Linked DNA regions of Homo sapiens: region 1 is linked to region 2. Evidence: promoter capture Hi-C in human tissues and cell types (Jung and others, 2019). All regions are on one chromosome and are shown on one strand. The core of a region is centred on a gene start or on the middle of the fragment in contact, and the rest is flanking DNA. Distances in the headings are between cores, read along the strand shown.

The links. Contacts are between HindIII fragments. The study calls those that stand out against the background at their distance.
Region 1: a fragment that was not itself captured here is called in contact with the fragment with the promoter of PIRT in region 2 in 2 of the 25 tissues and cell types used here (H1 embryonic stem cells and dorsolateral prefrontal cortex).

What each region holds. Positions count from the first base shown.
Region 1 is chr17:11,272,137-11,274,836 of GRCh38, reverse strand. All of the region lies in intron 2 of SHISA6 (shisa family member 6), which reads right to left. Among named protein-coding and RNA genes, the nearest start is that of SHISA6, 32 kb to the right of the region's middle. RefSeq lists an enhancer at 550-1,051. The HindIII fragment of the contact is 5,649 bases long and covers 1-2,700 here.
Region 2 is chr17:10,836,754-10,839,453 of GRCh38, reverse strand. PIRT (phosphoinositide interacting regulator of transient receptor potential channels) reads left to right here and starts at 1,367. Exons shown (of 2, transcript NM_001101387.2): 1 at 1,367-1,509. RefSeq lists a silencer at 134-358 and an enhancer at 2,055-2,556. The HindIII fragment of the contact is 18,169 bases long and covers 1-2,700 here.

The DNA of each region.
Region 1 (2,700 bases), core at 29-2,528, 440 kb before region 2:
TGAGCATGTGGCCTATAATTCTGGAGGGGCACCTGTAGAGTCAATTATTTTCTTGTATTGTCTCGTCTTTCTGCTCCTGGAGTTAAGCCCCTGAGGCCAGGACTGTGTCTAATCCACCTTTCAGCTCCTGTAGGCCCTAACGAAGTGTTCAGTACACAGTTGGTGTGGCACATCTAGCTACGGATGCCGTCTCCTCCTCCATCTTTGGTTTCCCAAATAGCCTTTACTCTGTAGGCAACGGACATTAAGCCCATGAGGAAAAGACCGCTAAAGGCCACTCAGATGGAGGCTGGGCTCTCCCTCCTGGTGAGAGCTCCACGCTCCACATCCCTGGGGGCCAGGAGCATATGGCTGCTCTCCCTCACTTCCTGCTGCTCAGGGCCGCCCTTGCCCAGCACCCTCTCGCTCCTGTCACTGCACCGCGCTCTGTTGCTTCCTTCGTTTTGCCAACTCATGGAGGTAATTGCGAATTCTAACCCTGTCCTCCGTGCTTTGGCTTTCCCTCTGACCGGCACCTCATTTTGGGAACAGCCCGGCCATATTCTAAATCCTCTGGCTCCCTGGGTGTAGGGGTGAGTGATTAGTGAGCCAGCTCCGTGGTTCTCCTTTCTCCCCCGGCCACGTGGGGAAAGTAGGCTCTCTCTGTCCCCAATTCGGGCTGCCTCCTTGATGGGAGGGGCAGGGGATGGGTCCTTTCTGGCCAAGCCTGTGCAGCCACCAGGCAGGACGAAGCCCTAAGGGTGGGACAAGTTGGGCACAGCTGGTCCCATCATCACAAGGGCAGCTCCTCTGGCTTCTGGAAAGCTTTGCTTCTGGGCACACCTGTCCTTAAGGCAATCCTATGCTGAGAAAAGCCACTTATGTCCCAGGAGAAGAACACAGGTGCTTAGCACTCCCTTCCTGAATGGCATAAAATGATGCGCTTCCTCGCAGGACAAGCCTGGCACTGAGAACAGAATGGTGATTTGGCCATAAGTTTCGCCTGGGCTCTGACCCTGGGTCACAGAATCCCAAGAGAAGTGCAGCCAGTGAGAGAGTGAGTCCTGGACACTGGGCTGCCTAGGTCAGACCACACCCTGACATCGACAAGCCCTGCGCCTGCGGGCAGGCTGCCCATCACTCCATGTCGCTGTAGCCTCCTATCTACTGGGAGGGGGACACTGCCTACACGAGGACTATGATAATGAAGGCTCCTAGCCCAGGGCGTGGACAGTCAGCCCTCAACAAATCCCAGCTACTGTTTCTATTATGACACACGAAAAGTAGGACCTTGGAAGTTGCTAGGCCAGCCTTCCTCTCAAGCTGGAAATGCCCAAGTTGCTCCTCTCCTTTGCTTAAAATCATCACGGAGTGAGCAGCTCGTTGCATGGCAAGGTGGTCCGACCTGGAGCAGAGGGGCTCACATCAGGAGAACGCCTGCCCTTGTGCTGAGCAAGCAGTGGCCTCCTCTGGTGTCCTCCCCACAGCCCTAGATCCATGCACTGGGACAAATGAGAAGTGTAGACACACGGCTTCAGAACAGGATTCACGTAGCTGGAGGGGGCTCCCGGGGCCCTGTCTGTACCTCTGGTCAATTTGACCTCAGGGCTTGAGCTCTAGGGTCTGTGTTTAGCGCCCAGATCAGTCAGCACCCCCTCCTGGCTGTGTGACCTTGGTTAAGCTTCTAATCCCCATTGAACCTGTTTCCTCATCTATGAAGTGGGCATTATAATGGTACCTGCCTCATGGGCTTGTTACAAGAATTAGATAGGTCAGTCCATGGAAAGCATTTTAAAAGTACTGTTAGTTGCTAATATGATTTGAAGAACAGCGTTCTCCAGCTTTCCTGGGAGCCGTATCACTCTCTCTGGCAGGCCAGGGGCACGAGTGTCTACAACAAGACACAGGAACTCAGGCATCACACTCCAGCCATGAAAACAGCTGGCATGCCACCACCTTGGATCTGGATTCCAGGTTGTTTCAAAGCAGTCTAAAGACATAGCTGTTTCCAGACATCTCAACTTGCTCTGTTCTTTCATCCTAAACCTTCGTGACTCTGCCATATGACCTACTGTTCCCCGTGGGACTTACTGGGACTTCTGACCCAAATATGGGGTTCACATCATTGCTAGTCACTTTGTGAGTACTTACTGGACAGCTTGAGTATGCCAGGCTCTGAGCCAGGGATTAGAGATTGTCAGGTGAGCTATGCTGATACCAGACACACCTTAGAGAAACCAGACAGCCCAGAGGTGGTTAAGTCAATCTTCACAACACAAGTAGGAGAGTTTATACCCAGTTTACAGATCAGGAAACTGAAGCACGGAAGGTTAAGTAAAGTGATCAAGCCCTACTTCCAGCTAGTGAAGGCAGAGCGGGGTTCCAAACTGGGGCCAACAGTCCTAGTCAGCCCGCTCCACTGCCTCTCTGCAAGGACGGAGGAGCCCAGGATGCCACCAAGGACCAGTGGAGAAAGGCCCCCGGGCAGGGAGCCAGGGAAGTGAGAGCCACGCGGGAGCCTGGGAGATAAGGAAGAGCAGGCTAGGCTGAGGGAAAGTGAACGAAAAGAGAACATTCCAGACCAAGCAAAGAGCAGAGCATGGCTGGGGAGCTATAGAAGACAGAGAGTGAGTCCCCATAAGGACCCAAATGTGTTTGAGTAGGCAGAGCTTTGGTGTCCATGGAAGGAGTGGCAGGGTTTCTGATGGCAGAGCCAAAAAA
Region 2 (2,700 bases), core at 118-2,617:
GGTTCCTCTGCGAGCCAGGCCACTTGGTTTTACAAACTGATTTGAGTATAAAGTCAGAGGCACCTAAGGCAAAGCAACTCACATCCTCAAAAACCTTCAAAGTCAAGTTCCCCTGGACACTCAAGGCAGGCCTCTCCCTGCTCATTGCCCTGAGCAGAGACGCTCATCTTCACAGAGGACAGAGGGCGTACTCAGCCTGATCCCTCACAGCAGCTCAGGGGACAGGCTCATCCTCCTAGCTCTCTGCTTCTCTAGGCATGGATCACACAGCAACCTCTACAGAGCCTTCTAGGCTCAGAATCTCCTGCTCATTGCACAGATGAGGAACTCAAGATGCCAAATATGGGAGAGTCTCATACCTGCCTTGACAGCAGCTTCCTTGGATGGCTCCTAGGAAAGCCCTCCCGGCAGACCACAGAGGAAGCCCCTCAGGGTACTGTTCCCAGTAGCAAGGATGCCCACCCACCAGTTATCCTGAGGAACAACAGCTGCCCACGTTCTCAGGTTAGTGTGGGCCAGGGCAGGAGCCAGCATGCCTTCCAGAATCATAGGCAATTTTGCTGACCTCAGTGTATCCGTCAGCATCTTGAGAACTGGCCACTCAACAGCTCACACCCAGCTTCCCGAAGCACAGTCTGGTAAAGGTTTATAGAGGAGAAAACCTTTTCATCCTCCTTGCACTGATTTGCATCATTCTCTTCTCATCATTGTGGCAGCAGGCATCCCATAAAAAGCAACAGGGCACCATGAGGAATGATTGGAAGAGCGATGGGGAACAAGCTCTTTTGCCTCTATTTGAGATGTCAGGCCTGGGATGGAGGTAAGTCGTGTTGTGGGCTCCTGGCAGTTTGTAACATAGGGTGCCCACCCGTGCATTGGAAAGTTCCAAGAAGTGTCCCTGCCATCTTGCAACCAAGGATGTTTTCTAAGTCTGCATGTGCCCCCTCCAACATCCAGAACACAGAGAGTTCCCAGATCAAATTATTAAGGCCTGCACTGAACAGAGCCAGTGTAGCCTGAGTCAGCCGGAGGGTCTGATCCACTCTTTGGCAACTCATCCCCACCACCATGGCCACTACACACCTCCACCAACCCAGAAACTCCAGGTCCTCTGATTTCTGAGCCTGGGTCAGGAGAAGCTGCCCTGCCCAGGCACCAACGGAACGCACGCCTCCATGAAACTTGAAGACAGACTGCAGAGAAGCATCATGAATTTTTCACAAGATTCATCTAATTGTGGCTGAGCAGAGCTGAGAAAGCCACAGTCCGAGGACCCATGCCAGCAGCTCACAAAGAGTTAACCCATTAGGCCATTGCCTGGTGAGCTCATCCATCCCTGCTGGAGCCTGCTCAGTTGCTGGGATTCACAACACACTGACTTCTGGACGTGGTCAGGGTGGCTTTCTCTGGCTGGCATGGACTTGAGCAGAAACTCATTGCCGGCTTCCTCCTTGCACGAGCACCAAGTGATTCCCAGGTCCCCCATCCTCCCCTGGGACATCGAGGACAGTAAGTAAGGAGGGAATGTTTCCTTCTGCCCTTCCTTCCATCTCGCTGAAGGAAGGAGCAGATTTTAACTTTGCTTTGGAGCGTGTTGTCTTTAAACTGGGGTTGGAAGGCAAGCATGAACAACAAGCGGAGAAAAGGGGGCTATGCCCTGGGAGGGGGTGAAGTCAGCCTGGAGGCACTGCCTGCTGAGGGTCTTGGCAGACAGTGGTGGCCAGAGGAAGGGGGGCCGCCCCTTGCTGTGTACTGGGAAGAAGGGAATTTGTGGGCAGAGAGCTGCTTCAGTCCTGCGTCTATAGCATCCAGCCTTCACTCTTAGCAGCCATTGTGGGAAGGGCTGGGCAGGGACTCTCCTCCCAAATCTAAGTGGAAGAAGCAAAAAAGCCAGACAGGAAAGTGCAAGGCCACCCCCAGACCCCAGAGTACATGGGTGGAATCTCGGACCCCAGCCGTCCTCCTGAGCACCCTGTGTCAGACCTCTGCAGCTGCCAATGTCTTCCTCCTGCAGCTGTGGCAGGTGTCTGGGGCAGGTGCCAGAAAAACAAGGTGGAGTGCGTTGGCTGCCTCGGGAGTTTTATCTCAGACAGGGGGAACAAGGCAGGCACATGCAAACACGGACAAAGACGTGGCTCAGTCAGGCAACTGTGTGCCGTGAGAACCCTGCATCCGGGTAAAGCCAGCCGTGGTCACACACGCAATCGCCCGAGCTATTTTTCTACCCTGTCACTGGCCAGGGTCTGGGCACCAGCCGGGTGGCCCAACAAGGGAGGTGGGTGGCACCCTCTAGGTTGACTGTGACCTTTGGGAAACTTCCCTTCCTAGAAGCGCTATGAGCAGGTGACAGATGGGTGGCCATGGCCATGGTGACAGCAGCGGCTTACTCAGAAACCCTCTAGCTTCTATTAGCCCAGACACTTGGCCCCCACTCACCTTATCAGAGGGGTGGACAGTCACCAACTGAATGTCCTGGTGAGGGGAAGACAGCACCGCCAGAGAAGATAAGGGACCGTGGGGATGACCACTGGCAAGCTGGAGCTGGGTGGGGCCTTAATGGGGACTCCGTGAGGGAAACAGGAGGACCCTCCACTTCTTACCACTCTGGGTCTTCCACAGGAATAATACATGGTGTTATTCCCACCACTTCCATCCTGCCTTCCCCGCTTCTCCCCCAGACTCCCCTCGCTGGGCCCAGCC